6 separate regions of the Homo sapiens genome follow, and regions 1, 2, 3, 4 and 5 are each linked to region 6. Evidence: promoter capture Hi-C in human tissues and cell types (Jung and others, 2019). All regions are on one chromosome and are shown on one strand. Each heading gives the region's core, a stretch centred on a gene start or on the middle of the fragment in contact. The rest is flanking DNA. Distances are from core to core; before and after follow the strand shown. Region 1 has its middle 24 kb from the start of HMGN3. Region 2 overlaps HMGN3 (high mobility group nucleosomal binding domain 3). Region 3 has its middle 12 kb from the start of MIR10524. Region 4 has its middle 7.8 kb from the start of MIR10524. Region 5 has its middle 43 kb from the start of MIR10524. Region 6 holds the start of IRAK1BP1 (interleukin 1 receptor associated kinase 1 binding protein 1).

Evidence for each region. Contacts are between HindIII fragments. The study calls those that stand out against the background at their distance.
Region 1: a contact is called between a fragment that was not itself captured here and the fragment with the promoter of IRAK1BP1 in region 6, in 1 of the 25 tissues and cell types used here (adrenal gland).
Region 2: a contact is called between a fragment that was not itself captured here and the fragment with the promoter of IRAK1BP1 in region 6, in 1 of the 25 tissues and cell types used here (spleen).
Region 3: a fragment that was not itself captured here is called in contact with the fragment with the promoter of IRAK1BP1 in region 6 in 1 of the 25 tissues and cell types used here (thymus).
Region 4: a contact is called between a fragment that was not itself captured here and the fragment with the promoter of IRAK1BP1 in region 6, in 1 of the 25 tissues and cell types used here (H1 embryonic stem cells).
Region 5: a contact is called between a fragment that was not itself captured here and the fragment with the promoter of IRAK1BP1 in region 6, in 1 of the 25 tissues and cell types used here (small bowel).

The regions. Positions count from the first base shown.
Region 1 is chr6:79,256,593-79,261,019 of GRCh38, forward strand. No RefSeq gene overlaps it. Among named protein-coding and RNA genes, the nearest start is that of HMGN3, 24 kb to the left of the region's middle. RefSeq lists an enhancer at 288-1,487. The HindIII fragment of the contact is 4,719 bases long and covers 165-4,427 here.
Region 2 is chr6:79,217,936-79,222,704 of GRCh38, forward strand. The region is part of intron 1 of HMGN3 (high mobility group nucleosomal binding domain 3); the gene reads right to left. Among named protein-coding and RNA genes, the nearest start is that of HMGN3-AS1, 13 kb to the right of the region's middle. The HindIII fragment of the contact is 4,303 bases long and covers 1-3,498 here.
Region 3 is chr6:78,525,133-78,529,842 of GRCh38, forward strand. No RefSeq gene overlaps it. Among named protein-coding and RNA genes, the nearest start is that of MIR10524, 12 kb to the right of the region's middle. The HindIII fragment of the contact is 4,934 bases long and covers 1-4,185 here.
Region 4 is chr6:78,544,852-78,549,313 of GRCh38, forward strand. No RefSeq gene overlaps it. Among named protein-coding and RNA genes, the nearest start is that of MIR10524, 7.8 kb to the left of the region's middle. The HindIII fragment of the contact is 5,619 bases long and covers 273-4,462 here.
Region 5 is chr6:78,494,483-78,499,028 of GRCh38, forward strand. No RefSeq gene overlaps it. Among named protein-coding and RNA genes, the nearest start is that of MIR10524, 43 kb to the right of the region's middle. The HindIII fragment of the contact is 3,849 bases long and covers 271-4,119 here.
Region 6 is chr6:78,866,275-78,870,432 of GRCh38, forward strand. IRAK1BP1 (interleukin 1 receptor associated kinase 1 binding protein 1) reads left to right here and starts at 1,277. Exons shown (of 4, transcript NM_001010844.4): 1 at 1,277-1,617. The coding sequence starts at 1,303. LOC107986613 (a long non-coding RNA gene) reads right to left here and starts at 1,216. Exons shown (of 2, transcript XR_001744210.2): 1 at 1,114-1,216. RefSeq lists enhancers at 1,172-1,281, 1,312-1,631, 1,464-2,064. The HindIII fragment of the contact is 12,955 bases long and covers 1-4,158 here.

The DNA of each region.
Region 1 (4,427 bases), core at 1,274-3,773, 390 kb after region 6:
TGGGTATCAGCAGTAGTGGCTGCAGAAGAGCAGATATTGGTGAACTGCAAATGCTGCTGCCTGATCTTTCCTCTGGAACTTTTGTCTCAGAGGAGTACCTGGCTGTGTGAAATGTCAGTCCGCCTCTACTGGGGGATGCCTCCCAGTTAGGCTACTCGGGGGTCAGGGACCCAGTTGAGGAGGCAGTCTGCGCATTCTCAGATCTCAAGCTGTGTGCTGGGAGAACCACTACTCTCTTCAAAGCTGTCAGACAGGGACATTTAAGTCTGCAGAGGTTTCTGCTGCCTTTGGTTTGTCTGTGCCCTGCCCCCAGCGGTGGAGCCTATAAAGTCAGGCAGGCCTCCTTGAGCTGTGGTGGGCTCCACCCAGTTTGAGCTTCCCGGCCACTTTGTTTACTCAAGCCTCGGCAATGGTGGGCGCCCCTCCCCCAGCCTTGCTGCCATCTTGCAGGTGATCTCAGACTGCTATGCTAGCCATGAGCGAAGCTCCGTGGGCGTAGGACCCTCCAAGCCAGGTGTGGGATATAACCTCCTGGTGTGCCGTTTGTTAAGCCCGTTGGAAAAGTGCAGTATTAGGGTGGGAGTGACCCAATTTTCCAGGTGCCCTCTGTCACCCCTTTCTTTGACTAGGAAAGGGAATTCCCTGACCCCTTGTGCTTCCCAGGTGAGGTGATGCCTTGCCCTGCTTCAGCTCATGCACGGTGTGCTGCACCCACTGTCCTGCACCCACTGTCCGGCACTCCCCAGTGAGATGAACCTGGTACCTTAGTTGGAAATGCAGAAATGACTCGTCTTCTGCATCGCTCATGCTGGGAGCTGTAGACTGGAGCTGTTCCTATTTGGCCATCTTGGCTCCACCCCCTTGGCTGGCTTCTTTACCATATGCTGTTTTATCAGCAAGGTCTTTGTGACCTTTCTGTAGGTTGCCTGTTCACTCTGATGTAATGTTATTAAGTTTTACTTTTGCTGGAAAATATGATTTGACCTCCTATCTCATCCTGTGACTAAGAATGACTTAACCTCCTGGGAATTCAGCCCAGTAAGTCCCAGCCTTATTTTTACCCAGCCCCTATTCAAGATGGAGTAGCTCTTGGTCAAACGCCTCTGACATATTTCACCCTTCCTTTTTATAAGAGAACCCTTAATCCTAAGTGTTCTAGAGCAGCAAAGATCCATCTTCTGTAACTTCTTCAGGCTGAATAGGGGTGATGATATTCTTGCTTAACTATTAGGGTCTCTTGTATTTGGGGTAGAGAGGAGCTCAGTCAGAAAGCATCAGTATGGCCACTTATAACTCCAAGTTCCAACAAAAGGTGATATCTGGAAGATTAATAAGTGTTTGATTTAAGAAAATGTTTTGTAAGCTTATCCTGCATTCCTACACAACGAGTACAACAGGAATATATTGCACAACAGTAAAGCAAAGTAAGTAAAATTATCCCAAGTAAACTAAATAACAAGACTCTCCATGAACTGGGCAACTGTTGGAAACAACCTGATGTGGGGTTGCTAGCTGATGCCAATACATACCCAGAAATAGAATACTAATCCAGATTTTTACATTACCGGTCCCTCCTGTTTCTTTTGAGCACTGGCCAGAGATCACTGGTTGGTTCACAGGAATAAGCAGGGTTAGTCTAAATTGCTGGGAAAAAGAAAACTCAAAAACAACTGATGAGACTAGAATCAAATAACAGGTATACCTTAGTTCTTGAAACATAATTTTCCTCTTTCCAGTTTCCCATTTTTACTAAAGACATATCATGGGAAGACCAATTTGCTTTATTATACTTGGCCTGATTATTGGTATAAAGTGCAGCAAGGATACTTATTTTTCATATAAGCTTTTTACATTGGCTTTTATGGAACTTTGTTCCATAAAAGGAATCTCAGATAAGACTGTTTTTAAACCTGATCCTAGCCATGAGTTTTTATCATCAAATACCTATGAACAGGGTAAATTCCTCTCTTCTTGAGGTACCAAGATAACCTGGGGCTCCTGGGCCTGTTAGAAAGTGACATTCTTTACTTACCACAGGTCAGGAACCCTGTACAGGGACTGTGTAGACAAGGTATGAGGCCAGTTTTCCAAAGAGCCTTTTATTGGCTCTATAAGTCAAGTTTGATTCCTTAAAAGAAAGCAAGCCACTCCAGTCAAAGCCTTGGTAAAATAACCAATTTCTCCAACTGTCTTGTTACAAAATAATTCCTTTTTTTGGTAAAGTTTTTTTTTTAAATTTTATTTTACTTTAAGTTCCAGGATACATGTGCAGAACGTGAAGGTTTGATACATAGGTAAACATATATAATTGATACATAGGTGTGACATGGTGTTTTACTGCACCTATCAACCCATCACCTAGGTATTAAGCCCCACATGCATTAGTGGTTTGTCCTGATGCTCTCCCTCACCTCTCTCCCCTGACGGTCCCTGGTGTGTGTTGTTTCCTTCCCTGTGTCCATGTGTTCTCATTGTTCAGCTCTCACTTATGAGTAAGAACATGTGTTGTTTGGTTTTCTGTTCCTGTTTTAGCTTGCTGAGGATGATGGCTTCTAGCTACATCTGTGTCCCTGCAAAGGACATGATCTTATTCATTTTTATGGCTGTGTAGTATTCCATGGTTTATATGTACCACATTTTCTTTATCCAGTCTATCATTGATGGGCATTTAGTTTGATTCCATGTCTTTGCTATTGTGAATAATGTTGCAATAAACATACATGTGCATTTATCTTTATAATAGAATGATTTATATTCTGTTGGGTATATACCCAGTAATGGGATTGCTAGGTCAAGTGGTATTTCTGGTTCTAGATCCTTGAGGAATAGCCACACTTTCTTCCACAATAGTTGAACTAATTTACACTCCCACCAACAGTGTAAAAAAAAGCATTCCTATTTCTCCACAGCCTTGCCAGTATCTGTTGTTTCTTGACTTTTTAATGATTGCCATTCTGACTGGCATAAGATGGCATCTCATTGTGGTTTTTATTGCATTTTTCTAATGATCAGCAATGTTGAGCTTTTTTTCATATGTTTCTTGGCCACATAAATTTCTTCCTTTGAGAAGTGCCTGTTCATATCCTTTGCCCACTTTATTTTTTTGACCTTTGTTAAAGTCTGTTTTGTCAGAGACTAGGATTGGAACCCCTGCTTTTATTTGCTTCCCATTTGCTTGGTAAATTTTCCTCCATCTCTTTATTTTGAGCCTGTGTGTTCTTTGCATGTAAGATGGGTCTCCTGAATACAGCACACCAATGAGTCTTGACTCCTTATCCAATTTGCCAGTCTGTGTCTTTTAGTTGGGGCATTTAGTCCATTTACATTTAAGGTTAGTTTTGTTATGTGTGAATTTGATCCTGTTATTTGATCCTGTTATCATGATGCTATTTGGTAATTTTGCACACTAGTTGATGTAGTTTCTTTAGAGTGTCATTGGTCTTTATATATTGCTTTGTTTTTGCAGTGGCTGGTACCAGTTTTTCCTTTCCACATTTAGTGCTTCTTTCAGGACCTCTTGCATGGCAGGCTTGGTAGTAACAAAATCCCTCAGCATTTGCTTGTCTGGAAAAGATGTTATTTCTCCTTTGTTTATGAAGCTTAGTTTGGCTGGATATGAAATTCTGGGTTGAAAATTCTTTTCTTTAAGAATGTCGACCATTGGCCCCAATCTCTTCTGGCTTGTAGAGTTTCTGCTGAGAGGTCCACTGTTAGTCTGATGGACTTCCCTTTGTAGGCAACCTGGCCTTTCTCTCTGGCTGCCCTTAATAGTTTTCCTTCATTTTGACCTTGGAGAATCTGATGATTATGTGTCTTGGGGTCAATCTTCTTGTGGAGTATCTTAATGGTGTTCTCTGTATTTCCTGAATTTCAAAGTTGGCCTGTCTTGCTAGGTTGGGGAAGTTCTCCTTGATAATATCCTGAATATTGTAGGTTCAGTCTTTTTATGAAGTCCCATATTTCTTGGAGGCTTTGTTTATTCCTTTTTATTCTTTATTCTCTACTGTTGTCTTCATGTCTTATTTCAGTAAGGTGGTCTGCAAACTCTGATAGTCTTTCTTCTGCTTGGTCGATTCCACTGTTGATACTTGTGTATGCTTCACGAAGTTCCTGTGCTGTGTTTTTCAGCTCCATTAGGTCGTTTTTGTTCCTCTCTAAACTGGTTATTCTGGTTAGCAATTCCTCTAACTTTTTATCAAGGTTCTTAGCTTCTTTGCATTGGGTTAGAAATGCTCCTTTAGCTCAACATAGTTTGTTACCCATCCTCTGAAGCCTACTTCTGTCAATTCATCCATCTGATCCTCTGTCAGTTCTGCACCCTTGATGGAGAGACGCTGCAATCATTTGGAGGAGAAGGGGCACTGTGGCCTTTTGGGTTGTCAGCATTTTTTCGTTGATTCTTTCTCATCCTCTTACATTTGTCTAGT
Region 2 (4,769 bases), core at 97-2,596, 350 kb after region 6:
CTGCCAAGGCAAAGGGGGCTCTTGCCCCACTCTCCAGGACACAACAGGCTTACACTAATCCAGTTTGAACCAAGAATGGTCAAGAGGGCCCAAATCATGGTCAAATAAAAAGGTCTCATGCACGTATCCACGTCTGCAAGAGACGTTTTAACTTTTTGTTGTTGGTTTCTCATGCCTTTTAAGGAAGCTGCTTATGTGAGGATACTCCTGTATGCTCTCACCCTGTACCAGCCCTAGGCTTTGTTTCTTATCCCTTCTGGCACACCCCAAGAAGGAAAACAATGGGGAGTGGGGAGGGAAGGAATGCTTGCTCAATTAGATTTTAAGACTTAAAAATAATAAACAATATAGGTAACTAACACTTATACAACAATATGATACTTAAAAGAGACACCAAAAACTCAAGGATATAGAAAGCATGAAAATAAAAGGATGTTGAAAAAATATATACTTAGCTAAAATTAATTAAAAAGTAGAAACGACCTAAACATATGTCATCAGAAGGATATATACACTGTGGTATATAATCAAATAATATGTAGCAGTGAACACAAATGAACTACGGGTGTGCACATCAACAGAGATGAATCTCACAAACGTAATGTTGGGCAAAAAAGGGAAGTCATGGCACGATTTTAAATAAAGTTTGAAAATACAAATACAAGAAAAGTCTATAAAGAAAAGCATAACAAATGATAACTGCAAAATCATGACTGAGGTTACCTTTTGCTGAGGAAAGGGAGGGTAATTTGACTGGGAAAGACAAAGTCATTGGTAAGAGTTATATTTCTTAAGCTAGATGGTGGTTTATTATTATGTAAATAATATTTATTTAGATACTACATACGTATGTATGTTTTATATTAAAATGTTTTTGATTCATACAAAATAGAAATTTTGAAGCTAATAAAAGCAGGCTCATTGAAATAAAAAACTCAAAACACGGATAAACTCTAGACCAGACACAGTAGGAACTGCCATAGACTGCTGAGGAATTAAGAATGCAACAAAGAACAACAAAAGGATGAACAAAAGAGAGGTTAGGTGATGTGGTTAATTGAGAAGCTCCACAACTATCTAATAGGCATTTCAGAAGCAGAGAAAGAGGTATCAGTAGGAAGGCAAAGACATAATGACTATTTTCCCAAAGTAAAGTCTTGACTCCCCAGATTGAACACTCACACCAAGGAACAAACTGAAAACAAAACAAAACAAACAAAATAATACAACAGGACATATTGTAATAAAACTACAAAGCATCAAGGAAAATGAGAAAATCTGTAAAGTTATCAGAGTTAAGGCAGATTACCTATAAAGAATTACTTCTCCAACAACAAATACAAATGTATGAAAATATAGAGTACTATTCAAGGAGTTGAGGAAAACTGCCAACCTAGAATTCTATACCTAGCTATCATTCAAGAGTGATGGCAAAATAAAGCCATTTCAGAATACAAACATAAAGAGAGTTCACTTCCAACAAAGCATTTCTTTCAACAAGAATCTATTACTAAAGGTTCAAATTTAGTAATAAGAAAAACAAATCTAGAAGGAAGGAAAACTATGTAAGAAAAAAATGTAAAAAATATACTAATAAATTTAATTAACCACTAATCGTAAACAACATTACCTATTGTGTTTTTAAGTTTCAACAGAAATTCTACAGCAGTTCTTTCCTACAGAAATACAACATATAATTTTAGATTTTCTAATTGCCACATTAAAAAAGCATAAAAACAGGTAAAACTAATTTTAATATTTTATTTAACTGACTATATCTAAAACTTTATTATTTCACCCTGTAATTAATGCAAAAAAAGATTAATGAGATATTTCACAGACTTTTTTGTACTAAATCTTTAAAATCTGGTGTTCGTTTTATACTTAGAACACATTTTTATTCAAATGCTAAATTTTTATCAGGAACATCTAATCTGTATTTAGAATTCATAAAACTTACAGTAGTTTTACCCAGGTTGCTCCAAACATTTATAATTTACCAATCGCTGATTCTAATATCAGTTTTTAAACTTAAGTTGATTAAAATTAAATAACAAATTCAGCTCCTCATTCTTAAGTGTTTAATAAACTCATGCAGCTAATGGCTACCATATAGCACAGCTTTAGACAAAAACAATCATGAAAGATAGAAGTGGGGTCGGTAGATAAGAAGTTAAAGGATACTATGGTCCTGGTTTTGTTCTGGAGGATGATACAGATACAGATTAATTTTAGACTTTGTTAAAATAAAATTTAAAGTTACCATTAAAAAATGTAAGAACAGAAATAGGATCTATAAACTTCCAAATCAGGAGGGGTGGAATAAAACATATTTACCAATAAAAAGCAGGAAAGTAAAAAACAAAGGAAAACAAAGAATAGAAAACATAAAAAGTCCAAATAAATCAGCAATCACAATATACCTAGACATAGTATACCCTTCCATTATAATGACAAGTGACAGAGGGAAGAAACAGAGTAATACATGTACAGGACTACACTTCTACAAATTGCCTTTTTTGTTTTTTTGAGACGAAGTCTCACTCTGTCACCCAGGCTGGAGTGCAATGGCGCGATCTCGGCTCACTTCAACCTCCACCTCCTGGGTTCAAGCGATTCTCCTGCCTCAGCCTCCAGAGTAGCTGGGATTACAGGTGCGTGCCACCACACCTGGCTAATTTTTGTATTTTTAGTAGAGATGGGGTTTCATCATGTTGGTCAGGCTGGTCTCAAACTCCTGACCTCAGGTGATCCACCCACTTTGGCCTCCCAAAGTGTTGAGATTACAGGTGTGAGCCACCACGCCCCACCACTTATACAAATTTTAGAACATGCACAAATCAATATTATGGATGGATGGATGGATGTGTCATAAAGGTATAAAAGCAAGAACTGGAAGAATACACAACAAATTCGTGATGATGGTTATCTTTAGGGGGGATGATAAGGAAAAAGGAACCAAGGGGATGTTTCAAAGGAAACTGAACTTTAATAATTTATTTTCTAAAAAGGCCTGAAATGAACAATGATTTTTAAAAGACTCCAATTTGTGAATTCTCAGTGGTGGGTAAATAGGTATATTATATTATTTCCTGGATTTCTCTGTATTTATGTTTTTTTCTAAATAAAAATATTATCCATACTGGGGAGAAGAAAAAGACTAAAAGCAAACCTACTCTATTAAAAACAGTACCATATCTACTCCCTAATACAAATTACATAACTAGGTTTACTCACAGCATTTTTTCTATTTCTTCAATATCGTATCAATCTGGTTTATATTGCCTCCTCTTCTGTACAAGACATGTAATATAACTGCTTCATTTGTACTGATAATGAAGGCACTGGACTCAGAACTCTTGAAGGAGTGTGGGAGTCGAGATGGGCAGAGGGAGTGTGGATTCCTTCAACAGCTGACCAACTGTGCCATCCCCATTCTTTCTTTACACAAAGATGCCTGGGTCCTGCATGTGCAGAACACTCAAATGTACTGAAGGGATCAGAACTGTATTTTCCTTAAGTCTTTCCAGCAGTCCCTATCAGAAACCAAGGGAAGAAACTTGGAATTTTTATTCCATAGGCCATCCATGAAGAATCAACAAGGTTTGCTGACCTTCTTTCATGTAAACAGTGCTTACCACAACATAAACAGGCACTGTGGGGTGATGAGCCCAATTTTCTCCCTCCAAACTCAAGAAGGTATCAGAAGAGTGTAAGAAAATCCTTACACCCTTTCAACAGCTGCTTAGGAACGGCTTTAGATGGCAGCAGTCTGTGGCTTTGTTAGTGTGGAGAAGGACACTGAGGGAGAGGCAGGAGGCAGAGAAGTTTAACGCTACTGCACTAGGAGTGATCTTCAGCCCATGGAAGACAAGAAAGAGGAGGGCTCAGGATTTTCAGCACAGTGTTGGACCTTTCTTATGTTAAACTTCCAAAAAACCTTCATTGGTACATGTAGTACCAATTCATTGGTACATGTATTGGTACATGTATTGGTACATGTAGTACAAATTCATTGGTACACATAGGCTCTTAGTTACTTAGAGTTTTACTTCTAAGAGTTTAAGTGACAAAGGCTATTGTTTTACGACTTCAGCGAATTAGCTGAAGGCCTACAGTAATTATGAAACTCAAATAACCATTTGCCAGCAGCCCCAGAATAAATCCAATCTCAACTCCTAGGTTATCCATGCTAACGAGGAAAAGCTGATGGTATATATAACAGTGCAAAGAGACCAACAATCATTTCTTTTAACCTAGGGAGTGTATTACATTGAGATAATCTTTTTCTAATTTGCTGGCCAATGTTTTAAAATTATTACTTTTATTGTTTTTTTTCAGTTACAAACTCAAGGCTGGGGAAAAAAGCAGTCCAGTATTAAATTGGTTAAAAAGAAAACCACTATGGCACCAAAAAATTCAAATAACACACCACGAGAAGGTCTGAAATGTGCCTATACCTAACTCTGTCGCTCTTCAGCTAAAATGAACACATAACTACTTAACACAAGGTTAATTCTCTCCACAAATGAGGGCACTGTCCATGAAATTCTTATAAGGTTTCTTGAGTTAAAAGGTAGTCTCCTTAAATTCAAATACTTCTATGACACATTAAACAGACACTGGAAGTTTTACTCAAAGCCACCAAGCGATGTTTAACAATGGCTTGGTTGTTTTTCATTGATCCTGTAGGTGTATGTCTGGGATCCTCTATTACTACATTGCTTTTAAAGTAATCTTTAAATATCCAATACTTGGAATTGAGAGGT
Region 3 (4,710 bases), core at 469-2,968, 340 kb before region 6:
TGAACTTCCTGCCCTTTACAAAACTTTTACCTTCTGTAGGGTTTTACGAATAATTGAAAACACCTATATTTGTGTTTTCTTAAGTAGTTCCTACATATTCTTTAGTACTGCAAGATAGGACAGTAAAGTGGAGACAGATTGCCTGGGCTCATACACCAGCTCTGATAATTCCTGTGCTTCTTAACCTTCCTGTCCCTCAGTCTGCTCATCCGTAAATTAGTCCATCATGGGCACAAGGTTGGGCTCTATAATCTTAGCTCTTATTTCTTAAAACAACCTGCCTAAAACATATTTTAGAAGTTCAAATTAAGTTAAACTGAATTTTTACTTCCTTTGCAGTTATCCATCATCAGGACCTGTCTCCTTCAGCAATAAACTCCAAGGGTTGCACCTTGAAGAAACCCTTTAATTTTTTGAGTTTTGATTTTCCTGGTCTATAAAATTGAGACAATAGTGATCCTTGCCTCATATAAGTGTTATCTAGAAAATGAAGCAAAGAATGGAAAACTGTTGTGATTCTGAGATCCTCCACCTGGCCCAAGGAAGGAAGGAACAACAAGCTTATTTCACATAAGAGCAGACGGAGTTGCTCTACTGAAAGCCAGAGTAGTGATGATTAGGTAAACAATGAGTAGCCTGGGATCTCCAAAAGGCAAGCACAGAACTGGATAGGATATCAAAATCAAAATAAGTCAGAAAGGAACAAAATACAGAAGTAAAAATAATTCAGGTATTGGAGCAGATAGGATAATTTTTCTATTTTTTTTCCCCCAAACCAAGGTCCCCCCCTGCATACAATATCCCCTAATATTTGCAATAATGTTAAACAAATGTGTAGCAAATGAACAGTTGAATGCTCAAAGAGCCAGATTCTCTAGTGGAGAAAGAAAGGAGATTAAAACATTTGGGCTCACATGGAAGAGAGGGCAAAGGGGAGGGTTTGGCCAGAGTGCAAGATGTCTGGGAGAACTGGCACAGTCCTCTTTTGTTCCATTCAAATTCTCATCCACCCCTCCATCTAAGGGAAACACATTCAGAAACCGGCCCACAGGCCTGCCAAAATTGGGCACTAGACATAGTAATCAGTCAAGCTGGTCTAATAACTATTAGCATGGAATAGTTGGTTGAATTCTCCCAGAACACAGATGGGCTGGCTGTTGAGAGGCATTGTGCAGGATTCAAAGGTCAAGTTCAAAGCAGGGAGGTGCTTTTCCCTAGTCAGGAAAGCCCCCACGGAGTTTTTTTCAGTCCAGTGTGTCTCAGTCCTTACTGCCACCTGAATTACCTATGGATCCTCTCCCTGTTCAGCAGGTCTGGGAGAACCTTCAAGATTCTGTACTTCTAACAAGCTCCCAGATGCTGCCACTTTTGCTGCTCCAAGACAGAATCACACTTTGTGGAGCGGGGGTCTAGTCCTCTGCGCAAGTCCCACAGAAACCAAGTATGTTGGCAGGGGCGTGACCTCTGAGAGATTTCACAAGAGGTAAGAGCTCATGTGTTGGTACATCTCTTTGGTGCTCTCTAGAGGTTGGAAAGGTGTGGACTCTTTTGCCCAGGTTTGTTCTCTGGGGAGTGGATAGATTCTCCTTCTCTCATGAAGGTGTGTGTTGGAAAATAAAATGTTTGGGGCATGCTTCTAACATGCTCTTCCAAGCATGTTAGAGATCCCCTTGTGAGACTGTCATTCTTTTTATAGATCAGAGGTAAGAGATCAACCCCAGTGGTCAGAACTACCACTGGGCTGGAGCCAAAACACCCAGATGTGACATAATGGGGTGGGATTGAATTATCTCTAAGAACTTGTCCTGTTCTAAAGTGATATCATTCTAGCTTTTAGTTCTTTTTTTCATCAACATATGGGGAGTTTTTTTTTTTTGTTACTGTTTGTTTTCATCAGAGCTAATGTGCTATACCCTGAACAAATGGGGGAACATAAAACATGTTCATCCAATAGTGAAAGAGATGATGCTTCTAACATGTTCTCTGGGGAGTGGATAGATTATTCTCCTTCTCTCATGAAGGTGTGTGTTGGAAAATAAAATGTTTGGGGCATGCTTCTAACATGCTCTTCCAAGCATGTTAGAGATCCCCTTGTGAGACTGTCATTCTTTTTATAGATCAGAGGTAAGAGATCAACCCCAGTGGTCAGAACTACCACTGGGCTGGAGCCAAAACACCCAGATGTGACATAATGGGGTGGGATTGAATTATCTCTAAGAACTTGTCCTGTTCTAAAGTGATATCATTCTAGCTTTTAGTTCTTTTTTTCATCAACATATGGGGAGTTTTTGTTTTTGTTACTGTTTGTTTTCATCAGAGCTAATGTGCTATACCCTGAACAAATGGGGGAACATACAACATGTTCATCCAATAGTGAAAGAGATGATGCTCCTTTTGGAGACATCTGATTATAAAAGTAGTTTAAATAAAACATGCAATTAACAAAGGAGAGAAAACCTGCAAAACCTGCTTTAAAAACCTCTGCGCGGTCCTACGAATTCATCCATTTTCTGTGACACAGACAAAATTAACTTTTCCTTTTTATGTTGAACATTAGCCTATAATCATTTTGAACTAAAAAAGTCTAAATATACTGAATATCCTATGATCATCTCCTTCAAGTCTTTACTCTTGTTTGTTTTCCCAAGAACAACCATCATCTTCTAGCAGATTATATAATTTAGATATTTCTTATGAATAGGGCTTATTGCCTATCATCATGCCAAGATGGGCCTCTACCTCATAAGAGCAGAAACCATTTTTTTCACTGAAAAACTTAGAATAGTGTTTGGTTTACAGAAAACACTCAAAAAACAACTTAAACCACCTTGAATATTGTAAGTCCAAACCTCTAATTCTATTCTCATGGGAAGATAAAATGTAAGGATAAAAACAGAGAAAGAGGAATACATTTGTGCATACTGATTAATCTTTACATTATGCATTGCACTTACTGGATGATTAAAAGCCTTCAAAGTTTTAGAATAAGCTTTACTAGTTAGTTATACCATCTAATGTGATTTATTTTTAAATTATCTTTCATTGAAAAGATATTTAGAAATCAAAGAGAAGAAATAGTAAGAATTGTAGTAAAGCAGTTTAGTGCAACTGATTTAATGACAGCAGAGACAGGTGAGGGTAAATTTTAATTTTCTTCCATTTTAAATACAGATGACTGGTTTGTTTTTATTTGTCAATATCTGTCCATCTTTGAAGACAGCAGAATCTTGATAACCTTTCAAATACTGACAAAGCCCAGTATTATCAAGAGCTCTCACGTATCCACAAAGATGCCATGGTGGAGATAAAAGTGGAAGTGAGTCCTTAGCAATGAAAGATGCTCACATCACATCACCTGCACCAGGAGTAACTGAGCAGTACCATCATTGCCTCTGCTGGCTTCTTCAATCGATGAAACTTATCTAAGTGCACAGCCTCCTTGTCCCAGGCATGTTTTAATTCTCCACTACAAAGCCTTTCATTCAATCATCTTCTGTGTACTAGTGCCTTAGGGAAGTTCTCTTTCATGTGGAATACATCAGTTTAGGTAACTGGAGAAATGTTCTTTTTATTGCTGCATTTATCTCTCAGTAATCCATTTAATAATAACAATTATAATAACATCTTGTATTTAAACAGTGCCCTTAGCACTGTTTTCTCTTCAGTCAGGGACTATTTCTTTGGTAGTTTTCCTCTCAATGACTACACATAAAATGTAGAGATGTAAAGAACTGAATCCTTGAATTATAAATACAACTTTACTGTATCATTTAGTCAAATATGGTGATGCCCAGAACAAATTACTGCAGACTGTTTTGTGATTTATAGTAGATGTGCCAAACTACTCATAAAATCCAGGCTCGATAAAATCTGGAAGGCCTTTGAGAAGAGATCATCTGCTACAAACACAGGCCAACAAGAGAATGCAGGGCACACATTTTCCTTGTGTCACATGGCACAGAAGAAAGAGCATTAACTTCAGAGTCAGAAGGACCGACAGTGAAACTGAAATTCTGGTTCTGCCCTTAGCTGTGTGACCTTGAGCAAGTTTCTTAACCTTTCTTCCCCTGAAGAAAGTTGAAGTGCAGATTAAATTGGATAATATAATACAGAAGGCACTAAATAAAAGTAGTTGGCATCTCTGCTACTCTTTAAATCTCCAAGATATTAGCTTTACAGCATCTACGGTATATTTCTATGAAGAAAAATGGCCATTTTAACAGATATATATTATATTTGTAATATTTATTGAGCATTTAATATGTGGTGGGTTATTTTTCACAAAGATAGAATATATATTGAGACTATTGTAAATATTATACCTACTTTATAGACAAGGAGATTGAACAAATCTTAACTTTTCAGTGTCCTGCCTAAAAGCCTTCAGAGGTTTCCCATTGCATTTGGAATAAAATTCACTTAAGCCCAGCAAAAGCTACCCCTGCAGTCCTCGGTGACCTCATCTCTTACCACTGCATTTCTCATCTTCCACTAGCCCCACCCCAGGTTTCCCAAACTCAGAAAGATTGTTCTCTGGCTGTACAGTCCTTGTACTAAGGGCCCCCACCACTCTCCTCAACCCCCACTTTTGCATGTCTATTTCTTTGTCATTTAGATCTTGGAATAAATTTCTTTTCCGGAGAAGTATTGCTTGACTAGTCAATCAATAGTAGCCACTGTGTCATCCTGTATGGCATTACTGGATGTTAA
Region 4 (4,462 bases), core at 1,832-4,331, 320 kb before region 6:
AATGGAGAAAGAAAGGGTAAGAAAAGTTGGGGAGAGAGAGCCCTTAAATGTGGGGATGATGGACAGGGAGAAAGCGACAATGATGGATGCTTCTAATCCAGGCACATTTGAAGCTAGTGATGCCATCCATCCAGGAAAAGGAAAGGATGTTGGAGGAAAAAAGATAATGAATTTGGTTTGAGGCATGCTGAGGATGGAGTAGCAATATAAATATTAATGTATAAAGCCTTACTTTTTAAGGCCATTTTATATTCTCATCAAGCATATGACTAAAGGAAATCTTGCCTTTTTGAGACTCAAAAATTAGATAGTGATTTCTCACATTACAAGAAACTCCATCCTGTATAAAGTAATTCTACTAGATTCTTTCAATCAGAGCTTTGCCCAGTGCATCAAAATCATGATTGGATTTTTAATATTTATGTACAGAGATAAACAACAAGGGATTATTTGGTGATAGAATAATGTAAATGCAAAGAAAAATTTTCTAGAGGAGAGATAAGGAGAGACAGAGAAATGGGAAGGCAAAGGCAAGCAGAAAGGCAGAGAAAATCACAAGGGGAAAAGAACATGAATCTGAGGGAAAGTGTATCCAGCAAAGGAAGAGCTGGAGGGTGAAGCTGGGAAGCTTTGCAGAATGGTGGGGAACCAGAATTAAGGACAGAAAATAAATACTCTTATGTTAAATATTGTACAGAGTATCTCTCAGAATCCAATAGTCAAGTTAGCCAGGTGTGTATTTGAGGGTTGCAGGAAAGGCCCTCCTTAAAGAAGGAACTCTGAACCAGCTTTGCAATCTCTTAAGCCCTGAATTCTGCCTCTTATTAACACTGTGATCTAGACAAGTTGTTTGACCTCAGCCTCAGCATCTGTGTCTGTGGAATACAGATAAAATGTAAATGATTGATATGGAAATTAAATGAGATAATGTAGTGTGGTGCCTGGCACATAGAAAGCATTCAATAAATTATTATTAACAATAAAAAACATATATGGGTTCCAAGCAATTTTATATTCCACATTAGGTATTAATTCATTGTTCTTTCCAGCAGTCTTTTATTAAAATGAAAGTCCACTTTGGGAAGAATAAGCTATTCCACATAAATAAAAATGTGACATAGCATACTTCATTGTAGGTTGAAGTCTTTAAACAGCACCCATCTTCCAAGCAACAGAAGCAATTTAGGGTAGCACAGTTACAAGATAGCACATGGATACTTTTTAAAAACTGCAAAAGAAAGGGAAAAATTCCATTTTAGAATTTGGAATGTTCTGTCCTGGCTTCAAATATAGAAGAATTATATGATCCTGGCTTTTTCTTAATAAAGTAATTGTGTGTAAGAACCATTATATTCAAAAGATACCTGCACTCATATGTTTATCATAGCACTTTTCACAATAGCAAAGTCATAGAATCAACATAAGTGTCCATCATTGGATGACTGGATAAAGAAAATGTATATATATATATTATATATATATATATATGTGTGTGTGTGTGTGTGTGTGTGTGTGTGTGTGTGTGTATACATGGTGGAATACTACTCATCTATAAAAAAGAATGAAATTATGTCTTTTGCAGCAACATGGATGGAACTGGAGGCCATCATCTTCAGTGAACTCAGAAACAGAAAATCAGATACTGCATGTTCTCACTTACAAATGAAAGCTAAGTAATGTGTACACATGGACAGAGAGAGTAGAATAATGGACACTGGAGACTTGGAAAGGTGGGAGGGTGGGAGGGGGATGAAAAATTACCTAATGGGTACAAAATGCACTATTTGGATGATGTTTACACTAAGAGCCCAGACTTCACTATGCAATATATCCATGTAACAAAATTGTACTTGTACCCCCCTAAATCTATAAAACTAAAGACATTTTTAAATTTTAAGAAAAGATTTCAAAGGAAGTGTTAAACATGAGACAACCCAGTATAAAGGGAAGAGATTAAAAATTTAGCAAGATGCACCAAAAAAAAAAAAAAGTAAAGGATGTGAGTTTGAAATAAAAATGTGACAGAGCACTAAGGGTACTCACTGGTGAGCAAACAGATGTTGGAGATGAGTTAGAATGAGTCCCCAGTAACTAAAGAAAAAGACTGAGTCTAGGCACTGTGGGACACAGAAACAAAGGAATCGAGATTACAGGGAGGGTAGCATTTAGTGAAGAAATTATCCAAACTACAGTAAAAAGGGATACCTATTGGATTTCTGATCTAATATATATTGCTGTGTTTAGATTTCTTATACAGCATACTTATCGCCAAATATTGAGACATCCAATTCTGTAAACGGTTTTTTTTTAATTTTTATTTTACTTTTACGTTCAGGGGTACATGTGCAGGATGTGCAGGTTTTTACATAGGTAAATGTGTGTCATGGGGGTTGGTTGCACGAATTATTTCATCACCCAGGTATTAAGCCTAATGCCCATTAGTTATATTCCCTGCTTCTCTCCCTCCTCCCACTCTCTACCCTCCAATAGGGCCCTAGTGTGTGTTGTCCCCTTGTGTCCCTGTGTTGTCATCATTTAGCTGTCACTTATAAGTGAGAACATGCGGTATTTGGTTTTCTGTTCCTGTGTTAGTTTGCTAAGGATAATGGCCTCTCCAGCTCCATCCATGTCCCTGCAAAGGACATGATCTTGTTTTTGTGGCTACATAGTATTCCATGGTCCATATGAACTATATTTTCTTTATGCAGTCTATCACTGATGGGCATTTAGGTTAAGTACATGTCTTTGCAATTGTGAATGGTGCTTCGGTGAACATATGTGTGCATGTGTCTTTACATAATAGAACGGTTTATATTCCTTTGGTTATATACCCAGTAATAAGATTGCTGGATCAAATGGTATTTCTATCTTTAGGTCTTTGAAGAATCACCATACTGTCTTCCACAATGGTTGAACTAATTTACACTCCGACCGACAGTGTAAAAGGATTCCTTTGTCTCCACAACCTAGCCAGCATCTGTTGTTTGACTTTTTAATAACAGGCATTCCAACTGGCATGAGATGGTATCTCAATGTGGTTTTGATTTGCATTTCTCTAATGATCAGTGATGCTGATCTTTTTTTCATGTGCTTGTTGGTCACATATATGTCTTCTTTTGAGAAGTGTCTGTTCATGTCCTTTGTCCACTTTTTGATGGGGTTTTTTTTCTTGTGAATTTCAGTTACTTGTAGATTCTGGATATTACACTCCTAAACTAAGTTCTACCTTGTAATTTTTAAGTTAACACATATTTATAAGGAGAAAGTTGTTGAAATTAGTCTCTCATCCAATCAAAGCTATAAATATGGCTGGTAGAACAAGGGGTTCCATTGGTCAGTGTCTGTGAGTTGGATGAGTTGTGATTGTTTAATATTGTTTATCTAGAGGCCAGTGTTTGTTTGGCTGATAGAGAAAGAAAAATCTGCGGCGTTAGAACATAGTTTATTTTTCAAGTGTAGGGATATGTGACTTAATCCTTGTCTGGCATGGCATTAGGTCTTGTTTATACTTTGATATCTTCTTGTCATAAAGAGTCTACTCTGTCAGTCTTACAATCTCTATTTTAACATTAATGCTGGTCAGTTGTTGTGTTTAGACTGAAAAAGGGAGAAGGGTGTATAATGAAGAGTGTCTGGGCTCCCATTCTATCATAGCTGAGAACTCAGTTAAGTATATTGGGGGGGTCTCCTTGGCTAAGAGGGTGTTTCTTTAGTTGATGGGGAGCTTAGAATTTTATTTCTAGTTTACATTTCCCCCACTTTGGGCCAAGATTTGCCGCAGGCTGCATCTATGGCCAAACTTTCATTTTGTCCCATATTGTTGGGGTAGCATGGCTACCTGCCTGGGGTCTATCCTGTCCCTTGGTGGGATCGCTGTGGCCAAGGGACTTAATAGAGTCAAAAGATTTATAGTCAATTAAATGTTTTAGTCCAGATGGAAATGGAAGTAGGCAGGTACTCACTTATTCCTAAAATCCTTTAAGTAATACAAGAGCCAAAACCAAAAGCAAGATTATAAAATTGACTTATGTATAAGTTTTATGTGTTGAGTCATCAGCTGTTTAGGTATTTGCATACCCATCTTTGATTTGGAGGGTCTGAACTAATTTTCTGTCTTGAAACTGGCCCTTATAATCTTATATGCCCACCTTTTTGTGATAGTCTCTGGACATAGAGGTAAGTTGCTCAACATAGTTTAGATTTAGTAGTGTGCTGGCAATGGAAAATAGATTGGCCTAGTGGGATTAAATAGTTTTTAAATTTTGGACATAGTATTAAGTAGAGAAAGAAAAGTAATATTTGTTGTTTCATTCAATTTTTGTAAGCTATAGTTTTAAATTAAACTGACAAAATAGCTTGTTTAATACATTTATATACACTAAAAATAAAAGCTTAAGCCTTCTACCAACTAAATAGACCCCCTCTTAGCTAAGAAGACTCCCCAAAAAACTTGAAAATTGAG
Region 5 (4,546 bases), core at 945-3,444, 370 kb before region 6:
ATGGTAGGGGAGATGGACGGGCCAAATTCACCCTTTAAAGCTTTTTCATAAGGCCTCATCACCTTTTGAAGGCCTCGCCTCTTAGTAATGTTACACTGGGATTTAAATTTCAACCTGAATTTTGTAGGGGACATAAACATTCAAACCATAGCAGAGATTTAATTTATGTATACTAAAGATGAAGTTGCCTCTATCTCAGCTAACTTAATTCATTCACTTAAAAAATAGTTATTGAATGCCTAATATGTGCCAGAGATTGCTCTGGGACTAAAGACACACTGGTTAGAAAATTTATTAAATTAATAGTTTTAATGCTCCAGCAGCTCATTTATAATTAGCTAACCATTTCCAACCATAAATGCATACTTGAGTAAAATTATTTTTACAGTTGATGGCAGAATTTTCAGCAAAGGACATGGAGACACACCAATTATTCTGCCCACATTAAATTTAGACCAGGAGTAGGGTTGGTTATTAAACCTTCAAATTTATTATTCAAGCTTTGAGAGAAGCAAACACATGAATGACCAATTTTATTTTGTCCCAGTTTTCTGCTTCACTTCATACACATTTCAAGAATTTCATTGAAATGATCCATTTTTTCCCTAGAATCTAAAATCAGTTCCAGATCATCCAGTTCCTTGATCAGGAAATAATTGTCCCTGTGAGCCGAGCTAATACTTTCCTGCTGTAGTTCAAATTTATTTTACTAAGACACTCCTGGATTACAAGTTCAAATTATCTTTGATATTATAATGATTTGAACATATTTTGAATTATATTCTGAATTTTTCTTTTTCCACATACAAAAATTTAGACAGTATATAGATTTGTTTTGTTTTGTTATTTTATTATTATCATACTTTAAGTTTTAGGGTACATGTGCACAATATGCAGGTTACATATGTATACATGTGCCATGCTGGTGTGCTGCACTCATTAACTCGTCATTTAGCATTAGGTATATCTCCTAATGCTATCCCTCCCCCCTCCCCCCACCCCACAACAGTCCCCAGAGTGTGATGTTCCCCTTCCTGTGACCATGTGTTCTCATTGTTCAATTCCCACCTATGAGTGAGAATATAGTTTTTAAACTTTACAGAGAACTACATTTTACTAATTAATAACAGTCTAGTAAAGATGCAAGTAAGTTTTATTCCTGCATGGAGATCCTAATTGCTTTGTCTATATTCCACTTTCCTTGTAACAAATTCAGAGAAAGAGGAGCCTTCAAGATTATATTTCATTTACCACCCCCCAAGAAAAATAAAAAGAAAATAATTCAGAGCCTTTATACCGGGGGGGCTGCTTTGGCTTGACAATAAGTCAATACAGGCAGTTTGTCAAACTCCAATAAGCAAATTAATGCCTTGTCTGATCTATAGGACAAGCACATATGTGAAGTAGAATTATCATTATAATTTTAAAAGAAAACTAGAATGGGGAAAAATACTACTCACTATGAAAGCCTTAAAAAAAAGAAAAACAAAAAAAAAACCCTGCTCTCTTTTCACTCTTTTTGAACATTACTTTCAAGTAGGGAAAGGGGTCACCGAAACACCTTCAGTTTTTTAAAAGCCAGGCCAGGGAAAGACAAAGCCAGTAACTTTTAGGGTCCACCTTTCTTCCTCACCCCAAATTGTACCCCAGATGTACAATCAGAGAACAACACAGCAGCAGGAAAGAGGGTTTCCAAACCAGCAACCCCTGGTGACAATAAATGCTTCTCGTTTCCTCAGGGAAGCTCAGAATGGAAAGCTTCAGCAAATGGACCCATTTTAAGTCCGAAGGACCAGTGTCTGCTAGTTTAAGGCAAGAATAACTCAATATGAAATTCTGCCTGAATGAAGCCCTAAAATCTTTAGGGACAAATTTGCAGAACCAGATATTGAATGTGCACTTCTGTCTCCTTGCTTAGCAACATGCCCTGCAAGCAGAACACACAATCACATGGCAAGAAGAGGCTTGGATGATGAAAAGTCTGCTTTTCTCAATTTTTCCAATGTATTCAAGTCCTGAAGGCTTACCTTAAAAATCATTAGTGTCAAAGAAAATTAATAATAATGTGCACCCAGGGTTGATTCTAGACCATTTTAAAGTCAGCTATTTTCATTCCCAGCATACTAGCTCTCTCCTTTCAAAGACTTTCCCGGCACAGCTCTCCCTACTTAGACTCACTCTTGTCTCTTCCTCTGCCCACTCCTTTCCTCACCATCATCCAAACCCACCAGTTCCTACCTTCATATAAATCCAAGCCACTTTGCTACTCCTTCCAGGGATTTTTGAGTTAAATGGCATCTCCAAAAATGGAGTAAATGGCTGTGACCCCCACTGATGAAATGATAGACATAAATGAAAGAGGTAAGAGAATTATTGAAATTACCTTTTGGCCAACACCTTATAAAAACAAAGACTTCAAAATATGCTTTCTGTTTTTATCCTCAGGGGACTCTGTAATGGAGCAACTATTTTTGATAAATTTTCTTAACCTCAACATTTCTTTCTGTATCTTCATATAAATTTGCAAATATTCAAGATGTTATTTTTTTAAAAACCCTGGACCTTCCAGAACCTAGGTTCACTTCAACCTTACTCTGGAGCTGCCTTTGGCAGACAGTACATGCCCAAAGGGTATGCTGATTAAATTGCATTTGAGCTGGAGTGTGCAACCCAGGTTCCGATTGCTAGATAGCATTTTGGCTAACTCCATCTGTCCAGAAACTTATTGCAAAGCCAGGGACTGCGACTGGTATAGTAAGACAGTAAGACAATGCAGTTTGAAAACTAGTTTAGCCTCTGCTATGTGCCCAACAATTTACGTGCAAAAAAACTTAGAAGATCCCCTAGCAAAAGATATCAAATACATGTTACTATTGAACAGAAAGGTATGCCTTTATTCAGAGCATACTCATGTTTTATTTGCTTTTCATTTTTTTTTCTGAACTTTGATTTTAGGTTTGGGGGTACATGCCTAGGTTTGTTACATGGGTAAATTGCATGTCACTGGGGTTTGGTGTACAAATGGTTTCATCACTCAGGTAGTGAGCACAGTAATAGTATCCAACAGGTAGCTTTTCGACCCTCACCTTCCTCCTACACTCCCTCATCAGGTAGGTACCAGTGTCTATTGTTTCCTTTGTGTCCATGTATACTCAATGTTTAGCTCCCACTTAGGAGAACACGTGGTATTTGTTTTTCTGTTCCTTAGGATAATGGCCTCCAGCTGCATCCATGTTGCTGCAAAGAACATAATTATTTTTTCTGGCTTTGTAGTATTCCATGATATATATGTACCACATTTTCTTTGTCCAGCTCACCAGTGATGCACATCTAGGTTAACTCCATGTCCTTGTTATTGTGAAAAGTGTTGTGATGAACATATGCATGCATGTGTCTTTATGTTAGAACAATTCATATTCCTTTCGGTGTATACCCAGCAATGGAACTGCTGGGTTGAATAACAGTTGTTTTAAGTTCTTTAAGAAATCTCCAAGCTGCTTTCCACAGTGGCTGAACTAATTTACAGTCAGCAGTGTAAAAGCATTCCTTTTTCTCTGCAACCACACCAACAACTATTATTTTTTGACTTTTTAGTAACAGCCACTCTGGTGTAAGATGGTATCTCATTGTGGTTTTGATTTGCATTTCCCTAATGATTAGTAATTTTGAGCATTTTTTCACATGCTTGTTGGCCGCATGTATGTCTTCTTTTGAGAAACATCTGTTTATGTGCTTTGCCCATTTTTTAATTGGGTTGTATGTTCTTTGCTTAAGTTCCTTACAGATTCTGGATATTAGACCTTTGTCAGATGCATACTTTGCAAATATTTTCTCCCGTTCTTTAGCTTGTCTGTTTACTCTGTTGATAGTTTATTTTGCTGTGCACAAGCTTTTTAATTAGGTCACCCTTATCAATTTTTGTTTTTGTTGCAATTGTTTATGGAGACTTCATCATAAAATCTTTGCCAAGGCCTATGTCCAGAATGGTATGTCCTGCATTTCCTTCTAGGGTTTCTATAGTTTTAGGCTATAAAGCCTTTACATTTTAAGGCTTTAATCGATTTTGAGTTAATTTTTATATGGTAAAAGGTAGGTGTCTAGTTTCAGTGTTCTGCATGTGACTAGACAGTTATCCCAGAGCCATTTATTGAATAGAGTCCTTTTCCCATTGCTTGTTATTGTCAACTTTGTTGATGATCAGATGGTTACAGAGGTATGCAGCTTTACTTCTGGATCCTTGAACCTGTTCAATTGGTCTATGTATCTATTTTTTTGGTACCAGTACCACGCTATTTCGGTTACTATAGCCTAGTAGTATAATTTGAAGTTGAGTAGTAAAATGTCTCAAGCTTTTCTCTTTTTGCTTAGGATGGCTCTGGCTATTCAGGTGCTTTCTTCTTGTGGCTAATGTGAATGGAATTGTGTTCTTGATTTGGGTCTCAGCTTGGACATTACTAGTGTTCAAGTATTACATTAGCATTATAGAAATGCTACTGATTTTTTGTACATTGATTTTGTATCCTGCAACTTTACCAGAGTTGTTTGT
Region 6 (4,158 bases), core at 27-2,526:
GTTTTCAGCTAACAATAAACAAGATGGATATACACAAAATTATGTTAATCTAGTGATGAGCCTAATTAAAGGAGGGGGGTACCATTGATTTAGTTGAATTATACTAATCGAAAAGAACAGAAAAAACGATGGTGAAGAAACTACAAGAGGACTGTCAGCTTTTCAGGGTCCTTTTAAAAGAACAGTTCTTGTCCTTCTAGAACTAGTTATTCAAAATTCTTTTTTCCCCCCTCGATTCTCTTGATAAAATTCAGATAGTAAAGACGTATAAGTCAGTGGGGCTATTTTTACAAAGATCATTGCTTAGTGCTAGGAAGAGAATCCAGAAGACGGGAAGTTGAGGGTTGTGTTCTAAAAGTTCTCTGAAGAAAAGGGTACAGAGAAGCTCCAAGTTGTGCAGGCCCAGCAAACTCCATGTTGGACGTGCTTTGCTACCACCTAAATCTCTTCTGTCGGAATTCAAGGCCCGAACCATTCCAGGGATTTTAGAAAAAAATGGGGAGACACAAAAATGATGCCAAAGCCATAGCTATCATTACAAACATCCATTATGTTCACTCTGCTTTCCATATGCAACGCACTCTACATACAATGGGCGCCTTATAAGCACATAGCAAATGTGAAAAATATTATCAACATTGCTTTGATAATATTAATATATTATATATATTAGAATATATTATATATTAGAATATATTATATATATTAGAATATATTATATATTACTAATATAAAAAATATTATCAACCCTGCTTTAGAGAAGATGATACTGAGATATGAAGAATCATAAACTGTCCAAGATCACAGGGGCAAAAAGTTCACCTCAACTGAAACCTCTCACGAACCACAAAAATGTGGCCGAGGGAGCCTCAAAAAGCAGTACCCCAAGCGGGGACGGTAAAGTCAGAAAAGACAAGGCTGGGGGTAATCACAGAGAAATCTAAAAACCCGCTCGGCCTCGCTACTCTTCTCCTTCCTCTGAGGTGCAGAGGCGCGGTGGGACGACAAGGAGTTGCGAGAAAGGGCAGAGCTCACTGAGGAGGCAACAGAGAAAGTCCGCTAACAATTTTTGAAGGCCGTAAGTTAAACATGTTAAAAACTGTAGCTACTCACTCAGCCGACATCTAGTAAAAAAGATGCGGCAAGATCAACAAGGCATATAGCTTGCGCCCGCCAGAAGTTCCGCGGCCTCCACACCCATCCCGGCATACTTTGCGCCGTGCACAGGCAAGCCCTGGTGCGCATTGGCCCCTTCGGCCGCCGTCGGCCGGTAGTTACTATGGAAACCCAGCTGCCATCGCTATGTCTCTGCAAAAGACCCCTCCGACCCGAGTGTTCGTGGAACTGGTTCCCTGGGCTGACCGGAGCCGGGAGAACAACCTGGCCTCAGGGAGAGAGACGCTACCGGGCTTACGCCACCCCCTCTCCTCAACACAAGCCCAAACTGCTACCCGCGAGGTGCAAGTAAGCGGCACCTCAGAAGTGTCTGCGGGCCCTGACCGGGCGCAGGTGGTGGTGCGAGTGAGCAGCACCAAGGAGGCGGCAGCCGAGGCCAAAAAGAGCGTTTGTCGCCGTCTAGATTACATCACGCAGAGCCTCCAGCAGCAGGGCGTGCAGGTGAGATCTCCGCGGGGGAGGAAATAAGAGCCGGAAGACACAAAAGGGTTGGCAGATGGTCGGGCCCCACAGGCCCCCCTAGCGGGAAGGGAGATGTGGAGGGTCTGGAGCGTTTAGGACGCGTTTGTTGCAAAGGTACTCCGGGACGCCAGGACCTGGCAGAGTGAATATTTGACCCATTCTTCTCCTAGACGAAGGTAATTATTGGCCTCAGGCAAATTAAAAATAAAAGAATGCAAATTGGGTAGGTTTTTATCTGGGGATATTTGCTTCAGTGATTTTGTTTTTAAATTTAAAGTGATGAAATGTTAAAACTTGAAATGTTAGTTGTAAATACTTGCCCACGTGGAGTGCTGGACACTAAATATTTTGTTTTGTTTTGTTTTTATTCCGCACCATGGAATTGGCAAGTGAAGAGCACGACCTGCTTCCTTCCGATCATGTAAAACTTTGCATGGAATGGTTCTTGAGTATGTTCCGCAAACAGTAACGTTGGGAAGTGGGGAAGAAGTTGCGTCCATTTTCATTTTATAATGATTTTCATTTTATAGTGATTCCCCCAAAATTTCTTCGGCCTTCTTAGGTTTAACTTAAAAGAAAAAATCAAGCCAGTATTGTGGATACCACATATACGAAATACTTCTACTTACTTAACGGAGATGTCCATGAGACAAATCACTAAACAAATCTTACCTTAAGCCTACTCCTAAGGCAAGAAAAAAAATGAAGCCATCATTTAATCCACACAATAGCACTGTTAGGCATGTTTTAATATCCCTGTTTTCCAAATTTAAAGAGGTTAAACAATGCTCTGAACTTTAGGTAGAGCAATATTTGAACTCATGTATTCCTGAAACCAGAATGTAAGTTGCTTCCAATTCTGCCGATAATTAGAATGAAAGAAAATTAGAAATCATAGGGATCAACGATTTCAGTTTTCTCATTTTATAGAGTAGGACCCCAAAGGCCAGAGATGTAACTTATCCAGGATGACATTGAGTTGGTAAAAGTGCAGGCATTGTTACTTCCAGTCTATTGCAAGAAATTCCATACCCCGAAAAAGCAAGTCCTTATTTTTAACAAGAAAAGATATTTGAATTGCATTTATAATACAAACATACAAGTTATTACAAAGTCATTTGGACAAGATTTCTTCAAATGATTTTACAATTTAGAAAAATACAGATAATTATAAATAATGTGAGTAAAGTGGGTTTAATATGTAGAAAAATAGTTTTAAAAAACTGCTACTAGTGCTGTAGTCGTTTGAATAATGTTAACAAGTTTTTAAGTTATTTACATAAAATAAAAAGAGCTCACAGGTCTCTAATATATAAAACAACATAAGCTGGGCATGGTGGCTCATGCCTGTAATGCCAACACTTTGGGAGGCCAAGGCAGGTGGATCACTTGAGGCCAGGAGTTCGAGACCAGCCTGGCCAACATGGCAAAACCCAATCTCTAGTAAAAATACAAAAATTAGGTGGGCATGGTGGCACAGTCCTGTAATCCCAGCTACTAGGGTGACTGAGGCAGGAAAATCTCTTGAATCCGGGAGGCGAAGGTTTCAGTGAGCCGAGATGGTGCCACTGCACTCCAGCTTGGGTGACAGAGACTCTGTCTCAAATAAGTAGTAAGTAAATAAATTAACTAAGTCCAACTTAGAGTAATCAAGATTCAGTGTTCAAGGCAAGACATAAGAAAGACAGTAACCTCCCAATTATCTCTGCTAATGGATGAAAGCAGTCAGGTAGATAATTTGTTCAGGAGATAATACAAAATATCATTTATATTTTCAGAATGAATTATGGGTCTTCACAAAGTCTGTATTCATTTTAAACTTTAGAATTCTGAGCTGTAAGATTTATAAACATCACTTCCCTGCTTAAAGGGCTCCTCATAATCCAAACTCCTTTGCTTAAAAGATGGAGCCTGAGCCGGGCGTGGTGGCTCACGCCTGTAATCCCATCACTTTGGGAGGCCGAGGAGGGCAGATCACCTGAGGTGAGGAGTTCAAGACCAGCCTGACCAACATGGTGAAATCTCGTCTCTACTAAAAATACCAAAATTAGCCAAGCATGGTGGTGCATGCCTGTAATCCCAGTTACTTGTGAGGCTGAGGCAGGAGAATTGCTTGAACCCAGGAGGCGGAGGTTGCAGTCAGCTGAGTTCGTGCCATTGCACTCCAGCCTGGGCAACAAGAGTGAAACTCCGTCCCAAAAAAAAAAAAAAAAAAAAAAAAAAAAAAAGATGGAGCCTGACTATCCTCATCTCCTATCATATCTTCCTCCCCTCTATTGTATTTTTCTTTAAGAATTAGCCCAAGTCTGAGCTATGGAAGTGAGACACTGTCTCAAAAAAAAAAAGAAAAGAAAAGAATCAGCCCAAATTCACCTTCTTGGCATTCCTTTCCTAATATAACACTAATCCCTGCCATGCAACACTTCACTCCCTATACTTGTAATAAAAACTTATCCTGTATCATAATTCTTAATTTACTTGTTTCTCCTCCATATTCTAAACTTCTCCAGAGCCAAGACC